3 separate regions of the Homo sapiens genome follow, and regions 1 and 2 are each linked to region 3. The links are contacts of gene promoters, found by promoter capture Hi-C in human tissues and cell types (Jung and others, 2019). All regions are on one chromosome and are shown on one strand. The core of a region is centred on a gene start or on the middle of the fragment in contact, and the rest is flanking DNA. Distances in the headings are between cores, read along the strand shown.

The links. The method cuts DNA at HindIII sites, captures the fragments that hold promoters and counts their contacts. A contact is called where the count stands out against the background at its distance.
Region 1: a fragment that was not itself captured here is called in contact with the fragment with the promoter of NUFIP1 in region 3 in 1 of the 25 tissues and cell types used here (aorta).
Region 2: a contact is called between a fragment that was not itself captured here and the fragment with the promoter of NUFIP1 in region 3, in 2 of the 25 tissues and cell types used here (dorsolateral prefrontal cortex and hippocampus).

What each region holds. Positions count from the first base shown.
Region 1 is chr13:44,437,377-44,441,617 of GRCh38, reverse strand. The region is part of intron 1 of TSC22D1 (TSC22 domain family member 1); the gene reads left to right. All of the region lies in intron 1 of LOC124903167 (a long non-coding RNA gene), which reads right to left. Among named protein-coding and RNA genes, the nearest start is that of TUSC8, 34 kb to the right of the region's middle. The HindIII fragment of the contact is 3,872 bases long and covers 1,056-4,241 here.
Region 2 is chr13:44,460,893-44,465,463 of GRCh38, reverse strand. All of the region lies in intron 1 of TSC22D1 (TSC22 domain family member 1), which reads left to right. It overlaps LOC124903167 (a long non-coding RNA gene), which reads right to left. Exons shown (of 4, transcript XR_007063778.1): 4 at 773-843. Among named protein-coding and RNA genes, the nearest start is that of TUSC8, 57 kb to the right of the region's middle. The HindIII fragment of the contact is 4,111 bases long and covers 1,059-4,571 here.
Region 3 is chr13:44,987,642-44,992,235 of GRCh38, reverse strand. NUFIP1 (nuclear FMR1 interacting protein 1) reads left to right here and starts at 2,765. Exons shown (of 10, transcript NM_012345.3): 1 at 2,765-3,211. The coding sequence starts at 2,800. GPALPP1 (GPALPP motifs containing 1) reads right to left here and starts at 2,698. Exons shown (of 8, transcript NM_018559.5): 1 at 2,494-2,698. The coding sequence starts at 2,581. RefSeq lists enhancers at 1,952-2,588, 2,515-2,704, 2,895-2,964, 2,589-3,227. The HindIII fragment of the contact is 10,586 bases long and covers 1-4,594 here.

The DNA.
Region 1 (4,241 bases), core at 1,742-4,241, 550 kb after region 3:
CTATGTAATATATTTATACTTACACTATTTCTTGCTTTTTCCATTTTAGATGTTAGGTAATCAAGCTGTAGTAGATTAGGATTTAGCAGTTTTAAACCATTCCTGCCATGCAATTTTTCTTCCTGTTACCTTCTCAATAAAGTTAACTTTTAAAAGGTAAATCCACAAAAAAATGAAAAAATAATATGGGTCATGTATATTTTATGAGCATTCCGTGTTTTCTTCCTTGCTCTGTTTTCAGTAAAACTGCCTTTGAGCTTATCTAATTGTTCCATTAGATCTATCATACACCTATCAGTAGCTCACCTGTGCCCTGCAAATGCTTAGATGTGTTAGATAATCTGTGTGTTCATTAGCACGGAAGCTCTCCCTCCTGGAGTTCTCCATCTTCCCTTACCATTGCAGACCAGGTACAGACCAGCTGCAGCTTGGGCTTGTCCAGCAGCAGTCCCCCTGAGATCTCCCTGCACTCCAGCCTGCTGATTCCCTTCCTTTCCTCCAGTATCTGAGTTCCTGGTTCCTATTTCCCATGCCTGCCTTTTTTCTTGATTTGCTCCTCCATTTTGGTGTCTGAAATATCTAAAAATGTTTTAATTCTACCTTTACACTCAAATGATGATTTGGCCAAGTAAAGAATTCTGGATAAAAAAACTCTTTTCTCTCAGAATTTTAAAGACATTTTCTTCATCTTTTTCTGACTGCCAGCAAAGTGGTTCTGTTCCTAGTCCCTGTGTTTGTAACTTGTTTCTTCCATTTGGAAGCTTTTAGTATTTTCTCTCTATGCCTAGTGATTAAGGTTTCAGGGTGGTGTGCTTTGGTGGAGGGCTTTTTCATTTCTTGTGGTGGGCATTTGGTCATCTCATTTAACTGGAGACTTGTGTCCTTCAGTTCTGGAACAATTCTTAAATTATTTGATAATTCTCTTCCTTCTGTTCTCTCTCCAAAATAGAAATGCATCCTATTTTGATGTTGGACCTCCTAGATTTATCCTTTTTCTTTTCCGATTCTTTTTTTTTTTTTTTTTTTTTTTGAGACAGAGCCTTGCCCTGTTGCCTAGGCTGGAGTGCAATGATGCGATCTCAGCTCACTGCAACCTCTGCCTCCTGGGTTCAAGCAATTCTTCGTCAGCCTCCCCAGTAGCTGGGATTATAGACATGTGCCACCACGCCCAGCTAATTTATTTGTTTTTGTTTTTTTTTAAAGTGGAGACGGGGTTTTACCATGTTGGCAAGGCTGGTCTTGAACTCCTGACCTCAAGTGATCCGCCCATCTCACCCTCTCAAAGTGCTGGGATTACAGGCATGAGCCATCGCGCTCGCGCCCGGCCACTGTTCTACTCTTTTGGAAGCTTTTTCCAACCAGCCTTTCTGTGGAGATAAGGAAATGTAAATTGTGGTTGAATTTAACAGCCATTTCTTTGGCATTTCTTCTTGTTTTGACAGTGTGTGGGACCCAACACTAAAACACTATTTGTTGTTTTTCTGCCATTCACATTTAACTGATAGTCCTGTAGTTTCATTTGTTAAACCTGGTAAGTATATTCCCATGCCTAGTGAGAGTAAACTAGAAAAATGGAGGTGACGTGGGAGTCCTTAGACAGCAGTGATTTGGTCAGGTACAGGGTAATGTGCCTTCGCTTCTTTCCTGGCAGTTGTTTTAGATTTGCAAGGAGTTTGGATAGGGGGAGAAAGAGGTTACTCTATTTCAGTGCTGAATCTCCAACTGTACCGGTGTTGGCCAAGTCAGATTAAGTTTGGAAGAAAAGCACATGTTACAGGAAACAGAAACACTCAGGCCTGTTCCTCTTTTCCTATCCTGTCATGCTTGCTACCAATATGCAGTAGCAGTTGAATTGGAATCTGTGTAAAAAGGCTTTTAGGCAGACAACACTAGAAAATACCTCAATCTCAATTGTCCAGGCTGTTTAATGTGTATGAGTTCCCACTGAGGTGATACCTCCTGATCTTTGCTCAGTGCCTGAAATAGACTTATATGGTCCATGGCTTTAAGGATCTCTCCTGGAAGCCTTGTAGTATTTTTCTCTGCCCTGTCAGCAAGTCTCAGTGAGCTCTGATGAGGCACCAGACATATGGATCGTTTGTCTTGCAATTAGAAGAGCCTTTGAATGTAATTCTAGCCATTTGTGCCACGGACATTTCTGATCCAAGGGTTTTCCCTCCATGGAGCTTTCCATTTCCTTTGCCTTCTTTTTCAAATTATGTCTTCTCAGTTTTCATACAAAAGTCTAGTTTTAAAGGAATCTAGCATATTTATGTGAAATATATGAGAAAATTAGATTTCTAATCATTTTTTTAGTTGCCTATCCTTTGGCTCAACAAATTCTCCAGAAGTGTGCACACACACATACATGTTCAAGGATGTATGTAGAAGGATGTTCCTTGCAATTTTATTTAAAATATCCAAGTATTAACAATAACTGTAATGTCCTTCAATAGGAAAATGGGTTAAATAGACTATGGTTGCTTATATTTGCTTCTCTTGCTTGATACAATGGATGATCAGTTAAAATGATTGAAATAAAAACAGCTTTCTGTTTATGTTGAAGAACGGCATGAATAAATTCAGTTAATTTAGTAATTTTTTAAAACTGCAGCTTGGAATTTAAAAATTTTTTTATATGACCTTAGAGTTTTGTTTTTTAAAGCTCTTTTTATAGCTTAAATGGTGCTTTAATACCCTTTTTTCATGAAGTTGGCATTCAGTTAAAACATGTAAATGGAATTTAGCATACAAATAGTTTTAGGTATAACTTTAACTTTCAAAATATAGAGACTATCATGTAGTAAATAATATTCTGGTTAGCATTCATAGACATAGGGACCACATGCCAGCTTCCCAAATAATTACGATTTCTAAGCTTCTACTTAGTCTCCTTTTGTTGGAAATGGGTATCTTTTTTTTTAAAGCATCATATGAGTTAATATATGTAATTTTTATAAATTATAAATATGTTAACAATTATTGTTATTCAAAAGCCAAGCCTTAAAATTTGGAGAATATGAACCTTTCAGTAAAAAGGGAATCTCATCACTTTATAGTTGGTCACACTTTGGTTTTTAACCCAAAAGAGAATTGTGGTCTTCATCATTTACTGTGCTTACCGATCTGGTCTGGTTCCTAATAACTTTGGACAGTTTCTGAAAACCAAATCTACCTACCCCCACTACCAGCATTGAGTCAACTTAAAAACTGTCTAAATGGATCTGATGGCAATTTTAGAAAAGGATGCTGCTTGAGGAAAGATGCTTATTTTGGAGAGAAGACTGTGTGTGTTTGTGCATGTGCGTGTATTACATATATATGTTCTACGGTCAGATTTTATGTTGGAATTATTTGTGATGACACAATTTTATCTACAGATTAGAGAGGTCTCCCCAAGTACTTTGTAGATTTTTTGGTTTTTATATTATGCCATTAGAGGGCAGTATTGTAGAGGTTAAGTTTTCTTTCTCGCATGTATTGACTTGGAAACTGTTTATGTTGTATTATAATTTAGCAAACTTCAGGGCTTAGATTTCTAGTATATTAAATTGTAGCCTTAATTGATGCATCCCTGCAAGTATTTTAAATTAATATAGGAAATTTTGAAAGGGTTAAGCTATTTTATACCCACATCTCTCGATTTTGGTTTGGAGAAGGGAATTATTTGGTCAGTGTGGCCAAGAGGGTGAAACAGAGGTGAGCCTACAGCATCTATTGGCTGCTTAACTATTTTTAACCACCATTATATCCTCCCTTTTCTGGTTCTGGACACTGCAAATGGGCAGAGACTAACTTCAAGGATTTGTATGCTTTGAATACATACTTTATAATATTTCAATCCCTCTGATGTAAGAAGGCTCATAGGATTGAGGGATTGAGTCTTAGAGGAATTGTCACTCAGCTTGCAAAAACGTGCCTTAGGGACTTAACTAAAAATAGATTTATGTGGAATTCAACCTGTGGATTGACTTTTTTGGGTCTAAATAGAAGAAGGCATATTTAGTTACTAGGGAGAAGATGCTAATAGGGAGATGTGATTTTAAGGTTTGTGGCTCTACGGGCTTTTTGGGAAGATCCTGGATTTTATCTGGAGTCTTTCCCTCATGCCTAGCAAAGAATATATAATGTTTTTTGTTTTGTTTCTATAAAACAAAAGGTAGTATCTCTCAAAGAGCAAATGTGATTTTTTTTCCTCTAAAATTAAAAAAATACATGATTGCAGGGTGATTATTATCTTT
Region 2 (4,571 bases), core at 1,865-4,364, 530 kb after region 3:
TTTAAAAGCTTCCTACATGATTCTGAAGTTCATCCAAGGTTGAGAACCACTGAATTAGTCTCATCATTGTCATGCTCGTGTCCCCCCACAGAGTCCTATTAGAAAAAGGAATGCTTCAGCCATATGACGTGAATATAGCTTTCTTAGCCTGGCAAAGTCTTCGGGGGTAAAGACAAAGTTTAAGCCTGCATTTTTTTTTCCTGGGAGGCTCTCCTTGTATTCCTGTCTCTGTGCTTTAAACCTTCACACATGCTATTTCCATATTAGGTCAAGGTCCTGTGTTACATACTGTCCTAGTACCGTGAAAGTTTCCTTCAGACATTTCTTCTATGCCACGATATATATGTTCCTAAATACCTCATTCTGCAGCATTATGTGTTAAAAATAAGACAGCCTATGAAGAAAACACGGTGGGGGTCAACCACTCAAAACTTGTGCAGCATTGTAACCAGAGCAGTGAGAAAACAAAAAGTTGGTACCAGTTTAGTAAAACAGCAAGCTCTAATGGTAGGTATTAAAAAATACACAAAGAAGAGTGAAATGCTACCAACATTTTAATTAGAGCAGAGGTGGCAGGTGCTGATATAACACAGAAGGAAGTGGAGCTCCAAACCAGGGGCGCTGCAGTAAGGTTGGGTACAAGAGTCAGGGTAACCTGGCATAAGCTGAAAGGAGCACAAAGCTGGTAGGGGCTCCTGGTGGAAGTGCTTGCTTTTAGGTCTTGTTAAATACAAATGAAAAGATTCTTCCTGCTGCTATACAGCAGAGCTGAGAGCTCTTTCCATTCTTGATAAAGGCTGTAATTCACCAGCTGTACTGAGTGCTCTTGTGAAGGAAAAAACCCTGTGAACCAATACAATTTTTGTGTTATGCTGACATCATTATCCCATTTACTAATCACTTAATTGATTTGCCTTCTAGAAGGAATTAATTTGCCTTCCAGAAACATAGGGAAAAAAAAAAGACTATATCACTATGTCACTATCTGTAATCCTAGACAAATTTGATTAAAGTCTGTAAACTCCGTAAGGTCAGTGATGGTGACTATTCTGACTTGTCATCCTCGCAGGCATTTGTTCAATGAGTGAATGACTTCGGTAAAACTTCTCCAAAGAAAATGGTGGGAGTAATATGAACATTACGCTTTTAAAAAAATGGAACAATGAAAGTGACATAACCTTAAAGAAAGTTTAGGAAGTAGAAGACAAAATTACTCCCAGTCTTCTTCTATTACAGTCACACTAAAATACTATTATTATTTTTACATGTCCTTTTATTAGGTCTCTATTGCTACATTACAAGTTACCCTAAAATTCAGTGGCTTAAAACAATGAGGATCATCTTAGTTTCTGAGGGCCAGGAATTTGGAAGTGGTTTAGCTAGGTGGTTCTGGCTCAGGGTCTCTCATGAGGTCAAGATGTCAGCTAGGGCTTCCATCATCCCAAGACTTGACACTGGGGCCGGAAGATCCATCCTAAGACAGCTCACTCACATGGCTGGCAAGCTGATGCTGTCTGTTGGCAGGAAGCACCTCAGTTCTTAGCACTGTGGAACTCTCCATAGGCCAGCATGAGGGTTTCATGCTTGAATATGAAAATTTAAGCTAGGTACATACATGTAAGATAACTCAAAAACAGGTACAGTAAACAGTATGGGAAATGACTAATTTTTCTCTTATGATTTAATCTTCTACTCTGGCATTCTTTGACAATTACCATGATTGGATTATAGGTAAGGATTCTTTAAAACCTTTTCTTCTTTATTATATCTTTAGAGCAAATGGCCATTAATTTGCAAATACATTTTTTTCATGAAATCCTCTAATCAAATGCCACACATTTAAGGAGTTAGCTATTTGTTTAAAAAGGCCATTTTGAAAGAGAGAACTGTTCTCTTTATGCAAACCTCCTAATGAAATTCAACAGTGAATCTGATTTTATTTGCATTGACCCACCTCTGAGTTTAAGTTTTTTATGTTTAACATATGGGCTGTTTAGCCACCTTAACTTCTAATTCAAAGTCAACCAGTAATTAAACTGCAGTTTAGCTAGAACTGCTATTTCTATAATTCTGGATAGACTGAAGAGTAATACAGATATGTGAGAAGCTTGCAGATTTGTCAAATAAGTTGAATTTGATGTATGGATGTTAGGTCATTACCACACTTAAAAGAAATTTCCATGGACTGTTTGCTGAAAATTCATAATTTTAGGAAATACCATGTAGCTTTTATGTCTATTTATTACTTTTGTTCTCTATGCTTATACAGAGATGGTGATGTCTGTTTTTGTTACTTTGTCAAGTAAAACTGATCCCTTTAATCAAACACATGAGAAACTCATAGGCAATATTTTCTTGTATGATCAGCTTTAGTTTTTATTTTAGAACTAGGATTAGTAGGGGAAAGAAAGAAAGTATTAAGTGATCTCTTTCATTGATGACTGGCAGGATTTAAACTGTTTAAGTTCCTCAAACTCTTTGTAAGTGCAATATGCATCTAAAATCTTTATAATTTATAGTTTGTAATTATATGTTAGCTGTAACTCTTTACTTTTCACAAATAAGTGAACAGTTTTTAAAAATTCCCAAACACATTAATCGTCCTAATGGATCTGAGACATACCATGCTTGATTCTTTTTGTTCCTTATTCTCCTGTACTCTAGTTTTATGACTTATTTTGTGTTCCTTTGAGGGTCTTTCTGAATTTTTATATTATCTTATTGATTTGGAAATAGAGCCTATATCAACTACTTAAAGCACCCAGACAAATACTATAAGTAGAGGAACCTCTAATATCTTGTATCTCATAATATGGACACTTTACAGATCTTGATATTGTATAAGATTTGTTTTTATTTAGATTTTTGTGCTGTAATTGTACACATTGCCATTTGTAGGCTTGTAAATGGTTTACTGGAGTAGTGATCCATATAACTGAAAGTAGTGTGGGCCAGAATATATAGCTTGAACATTTGCTATAATAAAATGATCACAGAGTAGGACTCAGAGGCTTATTAGAAATATATCAGTACTTCTTTCTTTTGTTGAACAAGTCTGCTTTCTTTTTCCATAAAATAGATTAAATGAGGCCATTGTGATGTAGAGTTTATAGAACCATATTTTCTATGGTCCAGCACCTTTCCAAAAATGTTTGTAAAATAGATGTTTGATGTTATGTAACTTGAACAAAACAAGGTGCTTAGTTAAATGATAGTAATTTTCTTGTTACTCTGCTGAAATAACATTCAAATATATTTGTGGGGGTAATCGCAGAGTCACCAGTCTGAATTATTCTTATTGTGTAATGGTTTCTGTATAATACATAGTCCTATTTGTTATTGTAATAGACTCATTTGAAATGATGTTTACATTTTGATTACCTGGCGTCTTTTAAAATCATTTATCTCCCCTCTCCCTCCAGCAGAAACCCTTTAACAGAATTTATTCCTGGTCTCTGCTTTTGCCTTCCTTCTGTTCATACTTCATATTATATCTTCATGCTATATATTTAGGAATTGCCTTCCTAAAATACAGAGCTGGTCAGGCTACTCCCCTGCGGTAAACACCCCACTGGTGCTCCTATTTCCTAAAGGCAGGGTTGATATTTCGCTGGTTTGCACTAGTTAGGTTGAACTGGCCATTTACAACTGGTATCTGTTCTGATTGGCTGGGGCTCATGTGCTGTGGGGTGAATTTCGGATTCCTTAGCAGTGTTTTCAGTGTTTTGGGGGATTAGAAGATCTCTGAATGAGTATTTATCTGCCTTAATTTCCCACCATACTGTAATTATTTCAGAGGACCCTACTGTTTGGGCACCTTCCATAACGATGCTTTGACTTACTGCCTCTGTTTTGGACATTTTCTGCTTTTCCCTTAATACAGTCATTCTCTGGTCTAATTAATGATTTTAAGATTATTCTTGATGATTTAATTTAGGAGAAAATTCCTTGGTGAAATCTTTACTGACTACTCACCATCTAGTACTTTACTCGGTTACCTTCTCTTATGCTTTCCTGGTACCTGCCATATACCTAAGATATCACACTTATTACTTTGCCCTATAATTATTGCTTACACATCTACCACCCCTTCTGGACTATGGGCCAGTCACAATGCTTACCACAGGTAGGCACTAAATAAATATTTAAGTGTATGGAAAGAAGTTAGATTTTTGAGTCAGAAAAACCTGAGTTCATATTCCAGGTCAGCTATTATACTTACTAGCAGTATGAGAGTGAACAAATTAATTTTGCATAGTCTCAGTTAACTACTAATTTGTATATGCAATGATAATAGACGTGAGTTGAATATTAAGCAAGATACTGTGTACCATGCTTATTATATTACCTAGGATTTAGCTGTTCAATAAACATTCCACTGTCCTAGTTAAATTTGGTTTAAAAGTATTGTTTTGCATTTCCTTTTCTCTTTGAACTTTAATTTATAACAAGAAAGCTGTTTTTATCTGAAAACATCTCTGTTCTACTGGTCTGTGATAAAGCTAGATGATAAATTATATCATTCCTACTGCTAAGAAAAACCATTGTTTTCACATTTCTACTAGCATTTT
Region 3 (4,594 bases), core at 1,516-4,015:
TCACCAGGGAAATACAAATTAAAACTACCATGAGATATTGCTACAAACCACCGGATTTAAAAGAAAAAAACTAAATATTAGAATGTGGAACAACTAGAATTCTCATACACGCTGAGAACTTTGGTGACTTTGGAAGCTGGGAGTATCTACCATAAGACATATACTACAATGCATAGCAGCACATTTTATAACAGCCTCCAAATGGAAATTACTCAAATGTTCATCCAACGTAAAATGGATAAATTGCAGAACATTCATCTAATGGATGACTATATAGCAATGTAAAGAAACAACCTATAATAATTCTGTTTGTTTAAAGACCAGATTATGAACTTCAACAATCTATAATAATGCTAATCTACATGAATGAATCTCACAAAGTAATGTAGTACCAAGATAGGAAGCCAGTTATGAAAGAGAAAACATGCAAAACGAATCTGTGATGCTATAAATCAAGGAAGCAGTTACCCTCTGGTTGTAGGAGGGGTGGTGATGCAGGTAATAACTGGAAGATGGTCCAAGTGCAGCTTCTATGGTGTGATATAGTGGATGTGAAGGCCATTGGTACTGGCAAACTTCTTAAAAATCCAGATAGATGAAATAAAAATGATATATGAAGATTTTTTGGCAACCGTTTTAGGTTCAGCCATCTAGGCGGTTATGAAGGGAATGGAATTATAGCAGGGGAGATTATGTGTTTAAAATGACACACTACGTGTAAGATATTGTGCTTGACGAAGAGAAGTCATTCAACAAATATATACGAAGAATCTTTTTCTTTTTTTTTTTTGAGACAGAGTCTCACTCTGTCGCCAGGCTGGAGTGCAGTGGCGCGATCTCGGCTCACCGCAACCTCCGCCTCCCAGGTTCAAGCAATTCTCCTGCCTCAGCCTCCCAAGTAGCTGGGACTACAGGTACGTGCCACCATGCCTGGCTAATTTTTGTATTTTTAGTAGAGACAGGGTTTCACCATGTTGGCCAGAATGGTCTCGATCTCTCGACCTCGTGATCCGCCCGCCTCGGCCTCCCAAAGCGCTGGGTTCACAGGCGTGAGCCACCGCACCTGGCCTTATTTTATTTTTTTAAAGCTATCTCCTACAGGAAGGAAAGCATAATTTTTCACATTTACTTTTATTTATTTATTTATTGAGACAAACTCTCGTTCCGTCGCCCAGGCTGGAGCGCAGTGGCACTCTCGGCTCACTGCAACCTCCGCCTCCTGGGTTCAAGCGATTCTCCTGCCTCAGCCTCCAGAGCAGCTGGGATTACAGGCGCCCGCCACCACGCCCGGCTAATTTTTGTATTTTTAGTAGAGATGGGGTTTCAACATGTTGGCCAGGCTGGTCTTGAACTCCTGAGTTCAAGTGATCCGCCCCGTCTCAGCCTCTCAAAGTGCTGAGATTACAGGCTTGTGCCACCTCGCTCAGCTGGAAGGCATAATTTTTAAAGTGGTTATGACAGAAATTATATTGGAAAGGGGCCTGTAGTAGAAACATAGCCTCCGGGTAGACCAGGAAGAAAAATTAGATTCAGAAATGGCAGGGTTACTCTTTCAGCTTTACTCTTCTCCAACTGGGTGTCGGTGCTAGTCTACAAATGTGAATAAACATTAAAGCAGATAGGTATGCATGCCGGAATCCGAGAAGCATTCGTTTCGTATATACCAAGTGCCTGTTGCGTGTTCAGGTAGAAGACCATAGTGCAATGGTGGAGACAGATTATGTCGACAAATTATTCAAATACAGTGTACTAAATATGCAATGTAATTAGGAAAAAACCCGAGGGCAAAAAGAAAGGCATGACAATGCTTCGGGGAATCTGGAAAGGTTTTATTGGTGTGACATTTAAGTTGGGCCTTGAAGGATGGGGAGAAGTTTGTCAGTTATGTTTAGGAATGCAACCAGAGGAAGCCCAGAAGCCTAGAGCGTTAAGGAATTGCGCAGCAACTCAGACTGGATTGAGTATTGGGCTGTGTTTGTCAGATGCAATAACAGAATGAGAGGCTAGGAAGGCAGGTCGGGGGCTGGAGAGAACAGGATCTGCAAGGTTCTTGTAATCAGAAGGCAATATGGCACAGAGGTTAAGAGAACCGCTTCCTTCTAAGTCGCGCTCCATCACTTGCTAGCAGTATGATCTAGACACTGGCATGGGCTTGGGCGTACCCATTTGCAACATGGGAAAATAGTTTTTTTCTTATACGGCTTAAATGACTGAGTGGGTATCAGTCAGTTAGGGCAGCGTGCAGCTCATATTAAGGCTAAATGAGAATGTATTATCATCACGAAGCCAAACCACGCCAAAGCTCGTTTCTAGGAGGGTCCCCCAGCCTCCTCCCCCCTGCTACTGTTTGGGAAGAGAAAAGTTCTCTCGGGTCAGGCCGCGCCCACTCCCCACTCCTCCGCCCTCCTAGGCCTCCGACTTTCTTCAGCGAGCAGGGCCCGGCCAGGGAGTGGGTAGATGGGCCTGGTGGGCAGCGGAGACGCCGCCGCTTACCAGGGCTCGGGTCCCGCTCTTCGTCCTCCGCTGTTCCGCGGGCCTTGAAGCCGGGCGGCAGGGCCGGTCCGATCAGGTCTCTTGCCATCCGCGGTGGCGGACACTGGTCACAGATATGAGTCTATCCACGAACGTCAACCCTATCCAAAAAGAATCCCGCGATCAGCAGCGAAGAATGGCAGGTTTCCCGGCGCCGAGAAATGACGTAAAGCCTGTGGTTGGCTGAGCCTTGTAGTTCACGGTAAAGGAAGTGACGCCTAATGCTTGCTCCACAGTCGCGTGCTAGACTCCGGACCCGCCAGTGGTATGGCTGAGCCGACTAGTGATTTCGAGACTCCTATCGGGTGGCATGCGTCTCCCGAGCTGACTCCCACGTTAGGGCCCCTGAGCGACACTGCCCCGCCGCGGGACAGCTGGATGTTCTGGGCAATGCTGCCGCCACCGCCACCACCACTTACGTCCTCGCTTCCCGCAGCCGGGTCAAAGCCTTCCTCTGAGTCGCAGCCCCCCATGGAGGCCCAGTCTCTCCCCGGGGCTCCGCCCCCCTTCGACGCCCAGATTCTTCCCGGGGCGCAACCCCCCTTCGACGCCCAGTCTCCCCTTGATTCTCAGCCTCAACCCAGCGGCCAGCCTTGGAATTTCCATGCTTCCACATCGTGGTATTGGAGACAGTCTTCTGATAGGTTTCCTCGGCATCAGAAGTCCTTCAACCCTGCAGGTAGGCTATTTTTCCACGTGAGTCGACCCCTTTACCTTTTTCCCCCGTTCTTTCCTCTCCCCTTTCTCTGCTTCCTCTCTCTACTCTGCCTTGCCTCTGCACTCTTGGAGTCTGGTCATTAGCATCTCAAAGCAAAGTGAGACCCCCGTCTCTACAAAAAAAATAAAATTAGCCAGGCATGGTGGCATGCCTGTGGTCGCAGATGCATGGGAGGCTGAGGCAGGAGGATTCCTTGAACCCAGGAAGTCGAGGCTGCTTTATCAACTAAGTTTATATAATATTGTAAATCCTTTGTTCTCAAAATATGTCTGACTAGAATGTTTTCCTGTTGACTGTTAATTCCATTTAGCAGTTATTTATTGAATTCCGACTATGTACCAGAATCTGGGTATATAGCAGTGAGCAGAACATACAAAAAATATTATGGAGCTTAATATTATCTCTCTTGTGTAGGAAGACAGACAATAAGCAAAATAAAATATTGTGCATTAGAAGGTTGAGTGGCATGGAGAGAGATAAAACAAAGAAGAATGGTAAGTAGTGCAGGATTTTCTTTTTTTCTTTTTTTTTGGAGACAGAGTGTCGCTCTGTCGCCCAGGCTGGAGTGAAGAGTAGCGCGATCTACTTCACTCCAGCCTATGCAGTCTCTGCAGAGAGGCTCACTGCAACCTCTGCCTCCCGAGTTCAAGCAATTCTCATGCCTCAAACTCCTGAGTAGCTGGGACTACAGGCCCACGCCACCACACCCGGCTAATTTTTTATATTTTTAGTAGAAAGGGGGTTGCCCCGTGTTGGACAGGCCTGTCTCTAACTCCTGAGCTCAGGCATCCGCCCGCCTCAGCCTCCCAAAGTGTTGGGATTACAGGCATGAGCCACCACGCCGGGCCAGGTAGTGCAGTTTTAAATGTCATTGTTAGTCATAAGGAAGGTGACATATGAGCGAAGACTTTAGGGAGGTGAGAGATCACAGCCATGCATACAACTGGGAGAATAGGGGTACGGGCAGAAGGAACTGCAAGTGCAAAGGTCTTGAGGCTTAGAAGCTATACATCAGAATGGGAACCAGTGTGGCTACAGAGGACTGAGTCTGGAGTATAATTGTAGAAGATGGGGGAGGAGGGTAAGACCTGGTATGTCTTTGTAGATCGTGGGACTTTGACTTTTACTGTTGTGAGGTGGGTAGTACAGCGGATTGACATGACCTGATTTACGTTTTAAGAGGATTAATGTGTCTGTTGGTGAGAACTGACTGAAAGGGAAACCGGTTAGGAAGCTATTGTAGTTACTTTTCTAAACAAGAGATATTGGAGACTTGGACCAGGGTGAAGCCCAAGGGATGGTGAGAAGTAGTTGGATTCTAGATCTGGGGATACCTTGGAGCTC